Linked DNA regions of Homo sapiens: region 2 is linked to region 1. The links are contacts of gene promoters, found by promoter capture Hi-C in blood cells and fetal thymus (Javierre and others, 2016). All regions are on one chromosome and are shown on one strand. Each heading gives the region's core, a stretch centred on a gene start or on the middle of the fragment in contact. The rest is flanking DNA. Distances are from core to core; before and after follow the strand shown.

What was found. The method cuts DNA at HindIII sites, captures the fragments that hold promoters and counts their contacts. A CHiCAGO score of 5 or more calls a contact.
Region 2: the fragment with the promoter of REC8 here is called in contact with a fragment that was not itself captured in region 1 in 12 of 17 cell types (naive CD8 T cells, total B cells, neutrophils and 9 more); the score reaches 13.3 in naive CD8 T cells.

What each region holds. Positions count from the first base shown.
Region 1 is chr14:24,434,044-24,439,839 of GRCh38, reverse strand. KHNYN (KH and NYN domain containing) reads right to left here. Exons shown (of 8, transcript NM_015299.3): 6 at 3,661-3,768; 7 at 3,351-3,452; 8 at 1-2,804. The coding sequence ends at 2,555. SDR39U1 (short chain dehydrogenase/reductase family 39U member 1) reads left to right here. Exons shown (of 6, transcript NM_020195.3): 6 at 1-74. Among named protein-coding and RNA genes, the nearest start is that of SDR39U1, 5.8 kb to the left of the region's middle. The HindIII fragment of the contact is 2,715 bases long and covers 491-3,205 here.
Region 2 is chr14:24,169,377-24,175,398 of GRCh38, reverse strand. REC8 (REC8 meiotic recombination protein) reads right to left here and starts at 3,319. Exons shown (of 19, transcript NM_001048205.2): 1 at 2,791-3,319; 2 at 2,618-2,686; 3 at 2,358-2,500; 4 at 2,201-2,273; 5 at 1,988-2,108. The coding sequence starts at 2,846. RefSeq lists enhancers at 3,089-3,338, 3,407-3,907 and a silencer at 3,509-3,558. The HindIII fragment of the contact is 5,740 bases long and covers 1,899-6,022 here.

The sequences.
Region 1 (5,796 bases), core at 599-3,098:
CTGCCCCACTTCTCCTTTACGCTGTGTAGAGAATGCTCTGCAGTTTAGGCAATAAAAATAAATTGTCTCACTAACCTTGGCTCATCTCTTTGGCCTAGATTCTCCTGGGATTTACTTCAAGGAATGTCACCCTAGATGATTCTTCCCCAAAGACGGGGTTTTGAAAGTTACAATGAGCAGTCTCTCTCATCACCGTTTCCCTTCTTGGTCCTTCAGTTGCCAAAAGAACTTGTCACAAGTTTGGGACATCAGGTTATGATAAAGATAGACACTAGAAGAGAGAATGATGATCCATTTCCAATGGGCCCTGTAGTCACCCTGGATGCTGTCAGAGTGCCATTAGGATGCCAGTAGAGGAAGAGGTAAGGCCCAGGTGTAGGATAGCCTTCAGTCTGTGTCACCAAATGGCAAGTGCATTACTAACCACACAGTGGTCCCAGTTTATCAGGCTGCAGCAGAACAAAGTCAACATCCCTGTCTATAAGAAGCTTAGGACTTGCCTCTCATCTGACTGGGGCCACTCAGTCAACCAGGGCCCTTAGCACAAAAGGGCAGAAGACACTTTTGGTCTACTGCACACCCACCATCACTGAAAGTGAAAATGGCAAGAAACCAATCAAGAAGTATAAACAACCCTATCAGGAAAAAAAAAAACTCCAAGGTTTTCATCTAGGACCCTTTTTACCTACCTAAAGCTGTGACATCTGCCATAACTTGACCAGACACAGTTCCCCCAGCCACCAGTTCAGGCCATACTAACCAATCTCTTCTCAGGGACCGCTGGGTTATCTCTTAATCATTGTCACCTCTTTGACCAGCCTGTCTCCAACACACCTGCCCCCAGCCTGGGTCAGTATGGTACAGTGGTGTAAATCACCAAAAAGGAAGGGGTGAGGACACAAGGACCCTCCCCATCATCATTACACTCGCCATGCAGTATTCAACTCCCTGTGCCACTCAGAGGGAGGCAGAAGTCAGGGCCTGGAAAAGATCTTGTCTAGAGACTCCCCACAGGCCCACACAGAACAGAACCCAGGGGCACCTGTCCTACTTCTTTATCTGGTCTTGGATTCCAGGAAGTTGACTGGCTCTGTATTGTTCCTGGAGGTATGACCAGCCTCAAAGGTGGATGTAACAGAAAAGCATACTTTAGGCTGCACTAAAGTAAGGAGTACTGATTAATACCGTCTACACAGGGAATGTGCTACCCTGGAGATAGTAAATTCCCTGGCACAGGAGGACTTCAAGCAGATCCAGGGCAATGACCTCTAGGAATCAGGGTGAAGAAAGCATGTCAGTAACAGCAGAGTTGGTCTGGTGGCCAGTCAAGTGCCTTCCAACTCTGGTTCTTTCATTTTCCAGATAATTGGTTCATCTAGAACCAACTGGTTCAACTTCCGTTAAGTCCTCCCATCCCCATACACACACACATAAAGCAGAAGTGTGCCTTGCTTTATGCAACATACGTCTTCCATAGAGAAAATGTTAGGGTCGGATCACATTAATATTGTCATTGCAGAGCATGGCTTCATCGATTGGTGAAAAATCGACGTGTTCATCTCAACACCAGGAAGTGCATCTAACCAGGGATTTGCCAACACATTTGTTAGTCTGTAAACAACACCTGAATACAACAGGAGAGCTGCCATTTATAGGAACCCTGAGAGTATTTTGATAATGCAGTCATCCCTAATTTACCTACTGTGTAAATGTAGATTTTGGAGGTTGCTCAAAAGGGATGCAGCCATTATAGGGCACGTTATAGTGAGAATGCAGTGTTAAAATCTAGGGTGTGGATCCTGGAGACAAAGGACCCACATCTCTCTGAAAGTGAGGTTTCGGTTAGAGAGCCTGTGCAGCCACAGGCAGACACACCTGAGACTTGGTCCAAGCACCTTTCCTCCAAGAGGCTTTCCTCTATGTTCTCATTTCTCCTCCCAACAGGTATTTTTACCCCTGATTTGTAGGCAGAAGTAAAGCCCAAGCAACTCAATCAAGGTCACAAAACAGGCATAGCTGAGACCAGAAGCCAAGTCTCCCTCTGCCTTCTTCACTAGCTCACTCCACCCTATCGTGGCCCAGTCCACATAACACTGTGCCAGGGCCTAGCATCTCCTTCCACGCTCCCAGGAGCTCAGCAAGGGAGCATCTTGTTCTCTGGCCATCCAGAGCAGCAGCCAGGGAGAGGAACAGCTTAACTTCCTGTCACTTCCTGCCCACCCTGCCCTCCACCCTAGCTCAGCTTGGAGGTGGAGCCAACAGTCTCAGTCTCCGGAACTAATCCCCTCTAGCAGCCCCCACTCCCTACAGAAACCCTGTGCTAAGGCAAAGTTGAGAAGTTAAGGCTGAGCAGAACCTCTTGAGAGCTGGCTGAGGTCCTGACTCGGTAAGATCAGTTCACTTTATGGACCTGTCCCAAAGTGGCTTCCCTGATCCAAAGCACCAACTCAGGGTGCCTCTGGATCAGAGTGAGCAGCAGAGGGACTCTCACAGAAAGGGCTGAGCTGGAGGCGGCTGGAGCTGACAGGGCGGCAGCCACTCAAGCAGGTGAGGCTCAAAAGTTAAGACTGAGCAGGGCCTCAGACAGTTGGTTGATGTCCCGGCAGTATGGCTCCCGCTGCAGGATGAAGTCCACTTTGTGATCCTGACCCCAAAACACCTCCAGCAGCTGCCGCCGGAGCCGCTCTGTTTCCCGGGTCTTCCGAATGCCACCACTACCTTTTTCCTCTTCTCTCCCCTGCTGCTGTTTACCATGTTCTGCAAAGCCCCTGGAAGGATGCTGAGCCTTAGAAGACCCCTGTGTCCTGGGAAGAAACAGACCAAAAAGAGCTGATGAGCATCCTGGGGGGGAAATTAGATCTTAGTGGGCACCCCTCTCGTAATTGTCCTGCCTATTCCTGGCTTTGGGGGAGAAATCCTGAAGTTCCTGAAGCTGACCACTGAGTGGCAGTATCAACCCACTTCTGAAGGGAAGATGGGCCGTTCTTTTAGAAACAGGGTGAACTCTGCCACTATTATGATCTAGTTCTAGTCCTAAATGAATCACTTATGTAATGGTCAGCAGAAGGCATGCTGAATACAACTGGCTGTCAGTATAAGCAACCATTTTCCAAATAACTCCATCAAACATGCTGATTAAGAGAAACAGGAAGCAGGTGTTTCCCTCCCAGCAAGGAGGTTCTATGTCAGGATCCCCTGGGAAGCTTATAAAGGCCAAGGCCAATGCAACTCAAACCACTGCAAAATTAAGCTGGCCCAAACTGAGGTCACACTTCCACCCAAGTCTCTGGGCCTGCTGAGAGAGGGCCAGGGGTGGGGGCTGCCTGTAAGTAGTCTAGGGGATTGATTACCTGGCTGGCTTCTTCAGAAATTCATCCAGGGTGGGGCCGTTTCGCCCCAGTGGGTCATCAGGTACCATGAAGAGGTTTCCCACAAAGGTAAAGGGCAGCAGGCTGGATGGCGAAAGATAATGTGTGGTCACAGAGGGGGCCCTTGCCCACCTCCCAGACAACCGAGACCAGTATCACCAGAAGCTGCTGGCTCCATCCTTCAAGAAAACTTCACCTCCTTCCCAGAGTTTTCACCCCATGGCCAGAGCAGAGCTGGCTTTAGAAAAACATCTGCATCTGTGCCCAGTTCTCAGCGGGAGGGCTCCCTCACCGTTCTCTGATGATTGCCATCCACTTCTCAGACTCCTCCGCCAGGTCCCGGAACTGGTCATTGGAGACAATTATCCCATCTGTCTCTTCAGCCAGCTTCACCATGAACCTGTCTCCAAAACCACAGCAACCGAGAGAGGGTTGAAAAATTACCTACTGGGTACAATGTTCACTGTTTGGATCATGGTTACATTAAAAGCCTAGACTTCACCACTATGCAATATATCTATGTAGCAAAACTGTATTGGTATCCCCCAAATCTACAAAAATAAAAGTAAAAACCACAGCAACCATTTGGGACTCTCCAAGGCCCCAACCCCAGAAGTTTTACTGTCTCCCATAGGCCACTTCTGGTGATGGAGATCTGGCCCCCTACCTCACCTTGACCCAGCTACAGGCAACTGACTAGATGCAAGTGCCATGGCCTAGAGAGGAAACAAAGATGAATCCAAGGTGGTCTCCCAGTAGCATCCTATCTGCCAACCATAGTCCTTCACCCAACACTTTGTGCCTCGTTAGTAAACAGTAAGATCTAGCTCTGTCTTCCACCCTGCCCAACCAATCCCTTGCAAATCCAACATGCCTTTCCTTTGAAAAGCCTTGTGCTCTGCTCCCTTCCTTCCCAGGCCCACCATTACCACCCCAGTAATTCAGATATTGCAACTGAGATTATGCATAACCTCCTAACAAGGGGGTCCCCGCCTCTGACCACTCACCCACCCTCCAGTCTCCCCTGCCCTGCCCCAAGAAAGCATGCTTATCACCTACACAAAACTCTTCCACACTTGCCCTTTATTTACCAAATAAAGTCCACACACCCAGGCCTGGCAGCTAAGGCCTTCTACAGGCCAGCTCAAATCACCCTTACAGCCTTATCTCTCCCAATATTCCCTAACCCACTCTCAACTCCAGCTAAAATCAATAATCAGATTACACTCTGCTCTCCACATATGTCTTATGCTGACTTCCATATTTCTCCAACTATTTCCTCTATCTGGAAGGCACTTCCCAAGACTTGCTAAGGAACAGAATTACCAAGGGAACTTTTTTAAAAAATGCCTGGGCTCCATTCAGTAATTCTGATTCCACAAGACAGGGTAGGACTCATGAAGTGATGGGTGGTGGTCTTTTTAACAGATTTAGAAACAGAGATCCAACCCATCCCAGTCTTCTCAACACAAAAACTCACAAATCTCTCCTTTCCCACAAAACCCCAGCCAGAATGGGGCTCCTTTCCCTCTGAGTTCCTGTAGTGTTTGATTTATGGTTTCTTTCGGCTCTCTAGTCAAGAATCAGATCTTGTTCCCAGTGTTCCCACCTCCTCCTGCAGGCCATGCACCTAGTACTAAGTGAGCAGTCAGTATTTGAAAGATAGTGTGGTATAGGGGGAACTGGGAGTCAGGATTAGGTGTGACAGATATCAGGCTCTGAGCTTCTGTCTGGGAAACAAATTAAGGGAATGACATACAAATGTCTATGGCCGGGCTTGGTGGCTCACGCCTGTAATCCCAGCACTTTGGGAGGCTGAGGTGGGCGGATCATGAGGTCAGGAAATCAAGACCACCCTGGCCAACATGGTGAAACCCCATCTCTACTAAAATGCAAAAAGTTAGCTGGGCACGGTGGCATGCACCTGAAGTCCCAGCTACTCGGGAGGCTGAGGTAAGGGAATCACTTGAACCTGGGAGGCAGAGGTTGCAGTGAGCCGAGATCGTGCCACTGCACTCCAGCGTGGCGACAGAGCAAGGCTCCGTCTCAAAAACAAACCAAAAAAAAATTATATGGTACACTTATGGTATGCAAATGGTATTTTCCAGTTAAGCATATTTTACTATGATCGCATTACACAGTATGTTGTTCAGCAACATTCATTCCGTATGCCTACGCTGTGTACCACTGTGCTTATTCACTGTTACTGGGCGAATTCCCAATTTATATTATGTTATCTGCCAACCAGGTCCCACACAACTGGGCAGACACATGCCTTTAACATTCATTAAAACGAACTCAATCTTCAGTTTCAATTCTGTTTCAATGCAGGTGTGGAAAGAAGATTCCATATCTTGGGTAATCTGTGACATCTAGATATAAATAGAATAACATTGGGAGAACGTAAACTGCTTTTTTGTAGAATACC
Region 2 (6,022 bases), core at 2,070-4,569, 270 kb after region 1:
CCCGCCCTCTGGTCTTCTTTCCTCAGTTCCTGTTCTCACCTCCCTCCCCAACCCGCACCCCAGTTATCTAGCCCTCATCAATTTGTGCAAGAAGGCCGGGCTCGGTGGCTCATGTCTGTAATCCCAGCACTTTGGGAGGCTGAGGTGGGTGGATCACTTGATGTCAGGAGTTCCAGACCAGCCTGGCCAACATCGTGAAACCTGATTTCTACTAAAAATACAAAAATTAGCCGGGCTTGGTAGCAGTGCCTGTAATTCCAGCTACTTGAGAGGCGGAGACAGGAGAATTGCTTGAACCTGGGAAGCAGAGATTGCAGTGAGCTGAGATTGAGCCACTGCACTCCAGCCTGGGTGACAGAGCAAGACTCTGTCTCAAAAAAAAAAAAAAAAAATTTGTGCAAGCAGCAGTGCATCGTTATCCTTGGCAAGTGTTGTGGTTGACAGAGGTGAACAGAAAAGATTCTTGATCTTAAGGAAGTCTAGTGGGGAGACAAGGTTGTATGTAACCCCACAAGAGTCAAGGCAAAGGGTAAAACAAGGCCCTAGCAAAGTACTGAGTTCCCAAACTGCATTTGGTTCCGGCTAAGACTGGGATAAATATTTCATAGAGAAGGGCAGCATTTGAGCCAGGTCTGTAAGAATATGTAGAACCCGACTTGTAGAGGATGAGGGGTGACCATTATGGGCTAGGGAAACAGTACAAGCAAAGATGTGAATGTGGCATCATTGAGGCATAAGGGCCAAACTAGTGTTTAGGAGCCACAGATGCCCAGAGGACTGAGAGAGAAGTCTGGGGATGACTAGTTCTAAACTGGGGTATGTGCCAGGCACGGTGGTTCACACCTGTAATCCCAGCACTTTGGGAGGCCGAGGCGGGTGGAGTGCCTGAGATCAGGAGTTCAAGACCAGTCTGACCAACATGATGAAACTCCATCTCTACTAAAGATACAAAAATTAGCCGGGCATGGTGGCAGGCATCTGTAATCCCAGCTATTCGGGAGGCCGAGGCAGGAGAATCGCTTGACCAGAGGAAGCGGAGGTTGAAGTGAGCCAAGATCATGCCACTGCACTCCAGCCTGGGTGACAGAGACTCCATTTCAAAAAATAATAATAATAGGCCAGCGCGATGGCTCACGTCTGTAATCCTAGCACTTTGGAAAGCCAGGGTGGGTGGATCACCTGAGGTCTGGAGTTCGAGACCAGCCTGGCCGATAAGGCGAAACCCTAAAAAAATTGGGCCGGGCTCTGTGGCTCATGTCTGTAATCCCAGCACTTCAGGAGGAGGAGACAGGCAGATCATGAGGTCAGGGGTTCGAAACCAGCCTGGCCAGCATGGTGAAACCCTGTCTCAACTAAAAATACAAAATCAGTTGGGCATGGTGGCAAATGCCTGTAGTCCCAGCTACTCGGGAGGCTGAGGCAGGAGAATTGCTTGAACCGGGGAGGCAGAGGTTGCAGTAAGCTGAGATCGTGCCACTGCACTCCAGCCTGGGCCACAGAGCAAGATCCTGTCTCAAAAATAATAATAATAATAGTAATAAAATAAAAAAAGAAATAAATGGGGCATGGAGAGCCCCAAATGCTAGTAATCTGTTTGCAGCAGGAGCCACTGTTCAAATGGGGAACCAAGGAAGGGGGTGACATTAAGCTGTAGGAGTATTGGGAATAGATGGAGGAGGACAGGGGTAAGAAAGCCCAGTGCAGAGAGATGAGAGCCTGGATTAGGGCCTTGGCAGTGAAAACAGTGTGGAGACAAGTGGGGACAAGAGCTGCCTCCAGTGGGGAAACCGTCTGATCAGATTGGCCCTGAGTAGGTAAGTACAGGGGGCTTCGCCTGGATGGGTCCACCTTGGCAGTCCCCCTGCACCATCTCCTGTGGGAGAGAGCTGTGGTAAGCTTCCTTCCCCAACCCCAATGTCAGAGTGACACAGGGACAGCACTCCCCTTCTGCATTGCCAATTCACGAGTCTTGGGGAATGAGCCCTACCTGAGGGATATCGAAAGGACTAGGAAGTCTGGGATCCACAGACATCATCCCAAAAAAGGGATCTGGAGCATCTTCTAGGGTCTCCATCATGGCCAGGTGGTTAGGAAGCAGCAGGCTGGGTCTGGGAGAGAATGTAGGCCGTGAAGGACTGAGGCTGAGCCAGGCTGAGGCCAAGCTAGCAGGTGTTCCATCAAAGGCCCAGGGCACACTCACAGCTCAGTCTCCATATCTATTCGGATCTGCAGCTGGGCACGGTGGAGGCGCTCCAAGATGTGCTGGATGTCCTCTGTGGGCAGGGAGGACGAGGTAGACAGCCAGCTTAGCAGACAGCTGCTCAGCCCGCCCCACCTTTGAGGGTTCCCAGCCTTACCCACGAGGTACTGGCATTGTTGAGAATAGACGCGGATCACACCGATCTGAAGTTGGGCTGAGAGATAGAGGGAGAAGCGGGGCCGCGGCAGGCCGGGCTGCGGGGGTTGCACTCGTACCAGCACGTAATTGAGGATTTCCTCGCTGGGGAACAATGCGCCCTGATTACCGCTGCGTCCAGGAGTGGGCCCACAGTCTTGGCCACCCCATCCCCTAACTCACCCCCCGCACCAGGCCCTCCTTCCCTTTTCTGGGCCTTACCAGGTTTTCACCACATTCACCCTCAGGTATTCGCGCTTCACCAACCGGCTGCCGCGAGTCGCCGCCAGCCTGAAGTGGGTGGGGAAGGTGGGAGAATGGGGATGGAGGGGGAGCTGTCAGGCTGGGATCCCGGGCAGCGTCCGCCATCGCGCGCCAACGGGCCCCGCCCTTACCAGATGGTGGCAAAGCAGCCGGTGTGGCGCTGAAGCACGTTGGGATAGTAGAACATTGTCCCTCTGGTCTTTCACCCTCGATTCCACCAGATCCCCGTTCGGATCTGAGTCGGAATTCTTTAGGGCACAGAATTCCCAACACCTTGGAGAGAAGTCAGGATTTGGACTTCTCTGGTGGCAAGGTGGGTGCACCTAGAAAGCCAAGTTAATGAGGCAACGAACAATGGGCAGATACACAATTACCAGGATAACTGAGACGCAGGAGATGGGCGCCCCTCTCTGTGGACCCTCAGTGGATCCGCACGCCACGTGATGCGTCAAACTTGAGACTTCTGGGTTGGGTTCCAGGTTGGAGATGCAGAGCTCCAAGGGGACGTCCGGGCCGGAATCCAGAGCAGGTCCCGAGGGAGCACGGTGTCCTCCACAGCAGGCCTCGGTCCTCGAGCGCTGGGAGCGATGTCAGGCCCCTGGGCCTTGCACTGGCTTGGGCGGCCGCGGTGTGGCCCCGGGCCGCCTACTGCAGGACTAGATCGCACCGCGGGAAGCGAGCGCTTCGGGGCACCGCACCTCGCTCCTCATTAGATGGCGGCTTTTGCCCTGACAGCCAATGGGGAACGGGGGTCGGGTCGGGAACGCCAAGTATCCTGGCAACAGGGTCTCCCGAGGCAGCCAGCAAACCAATCATAAGGATTTTGCGCGCCGCTGGGGTCCATTGTGAGGTGTTCCGACCAATGGGCTCCGGTTCTCGCCTCTAGTAACAGGCGCCCCTTCCTTGACCAATGAGCGCATCCCCGTCGCTCCCCCGCCGCTCCCCCGCCGCAAGCCTGGCAACAAGGGCGCCTCAATTGGTAGGGGAGGTCGGGTCACCTCGGGGGCAACTGTACTGGGCCTCTTCCGGGTGCCAAGATGTACCTTGCACGGCGCCTGACCTGAGGTTAGACCCCGCCCTTCCCCCAATCCACAAACTCCGACTTTGTTTCCAACTAGGGCGTGTCGTGTGCTGCAGAGGAAGAAAGATGTGAGATGAGGCCGGGCGCAGTGGCTCACGCCTGTAATCCTAGCACTTTGGGAGGCCGAGGCGGGCGGATCATGAGGTTAGGAGTTCGAGTCCAGCCTGACCAATATGGTGAAACCCCGTCTCTATTAAAAATGCAAAAGTTAGCTGGGCGTGGTGGCACGCGCCTGTAATCCCAGCTACTCAGGAGGCTGAGGCAGGAGAATGCTTGAACCTGGGAGGCGGAGGTTGCAGTGAGCCGAGATCATGCAGCTCCACTCCAACCTGGGCAAGGGAGCAAGACTCCGTCTCAAAAAAAAAAAAAAAAAAAAAGGCTGTGAGATGATGGCCTTGGAGCCACCACAGGTCAATGAGGAAGAAGTCCATTTTTTTTTTTTTTGATGGCCTTGGAGCCACCACAGGTCAATGAGGAAGAAGTCCATTTTTTTTTTTTTTTTTTGAGATGGAGGCTCTCACTGTTGCCCAGGCTGGAATGCAGTGGCGCTATCTCGGCAATCTCGGCTCACTGCATCCTCTGCCCCCCATCCCCTCAGGTTCAAGCGATTCTCGTGTCTTGGCCTCCTGAGTAGCTGGGATTACAGGCGCCCTCCATCACACCCAACTAATTTTTGCATTTTTAGAAGAGACGGGATTTCACTATGTTGGCCAGGCTGGTTTCTTTTTTTTTTGAGATGGAGTTTCACTCTGTCACCCAGGCTGGAGTGCAGTGGCGCAGTCTCAGCTCATTGCAGCCTCCGCCTCCCCGGTGCAGGGGATTCTCCTGCCTCAGGCTCCCGAGTAGCTGGGATTACAGGCGCCCACCACCACACCTGGCTAAATTTTGTATTTTTTAGTAGAGACAGGGGTTTCACCATGTTGGCCAGGCTGGTCTCGAACTCCTGACCTCAGGTGATCCGCCCGCCTTGGCCTCCCAAAGTGCTGGGATTACAGGCGTGAGCCACTGCCCCCAGCTGAAGAAGTCAATCTTACACGAAACTCCGAAAGGACTTACTGGGGTCACTTCCTAAATCTGAACAACTTAGGTTATGGGCACGCCACGTGTGGTCCTTTCCCAGCTGTCAGTGTTCTCCCGGCTGAAATAGACTTTAGCATTTTTGGATGCAGCACAACTTCCTAGCCTGGAAAAGCCATATTCTCAACAATTATTGTGTAAATTTAAGAGGTACAGTTGTAATAATAACCCTTGTCCCTATGCCTCCTACCTTTGCACAGCCATTTCTTTGGCCTAGAATGTCCTTCTCTGCCTTGACTCCAGAGCATGCTTCTTCCTGAGACTTATATCTTACTGCAGCTGAGCTGACCCTATCTTCTTACAGTCCCCTTCAATTTGAGAGTTTTTTTTTTTTTTTTTTTTTTTTTTTTCTGAGATGGAATTTTGCTTGTCGCCCAGGCTGGAGTGCAATGGACCATCTTGGCTCAGTGCAACCTCCGCCTCCTGGGTTCAAGCAATTCTCCTACCTAAGCCTCCTGAGTAGCTGGGACTACAGGCATGTGCCACTATGCCTGGCTAATTTTTTTGTATTTTTAGTAGAGACAGGGTTTCAACCATGTTGGCCAGGCTGGTCTCAAACTCCTGACCTCAGGTGACACCCGCCTCGGCCTCTCAAATTACATGCCTATAGTCACAGCTACTCAGAAGGCTGAGACAGGAGGATCGATTGAGCCGAAGGTCGAGGCTGCAGTGAGCCATGATTGCACTGCTGTGCTCCAGCATGGGCGATTCTGTCAAAAAAAAAAAAAAAAAGAAAGAAAGAAAAAAAGAAATACATGAAGTGGCCGTAAGTGCTATGAAGAAAATGAGGCAGCATAGGAGGATAGAATAATGACGGCTGCTATTTAGGGAGGGTACTCAGGGAAGCCTTGCCCCCTCTCTTAAGAGATAAAATTTGAAGAATGTGGGTAAGTCATGTGCCTACCTGAAGGAAGAGTAATTTAGACAAAAGAACCAGCAAATGCAAAGACCCTGAGGTAGAAATGTGTTTGGTGGGTTCAAGGAGCCTGGAGCAAAGTGACAGGGGAAGAATGGCAAGGGGCGAGAGAGAGAGAGAGAGGAGGGTAGGGTCGCATCACAGGACCTCAGAGGTCCTTATGGGGATTTGGGCTTTTACCCTGGGTGATTTGGGACCCACTGGAAGGTTCTGAGCAGAGGAGTGACATGATCAGAATTACATGTGAAAAGAATCTCTACTGTGTTGAGAATAGCTTAAGGTAGACACG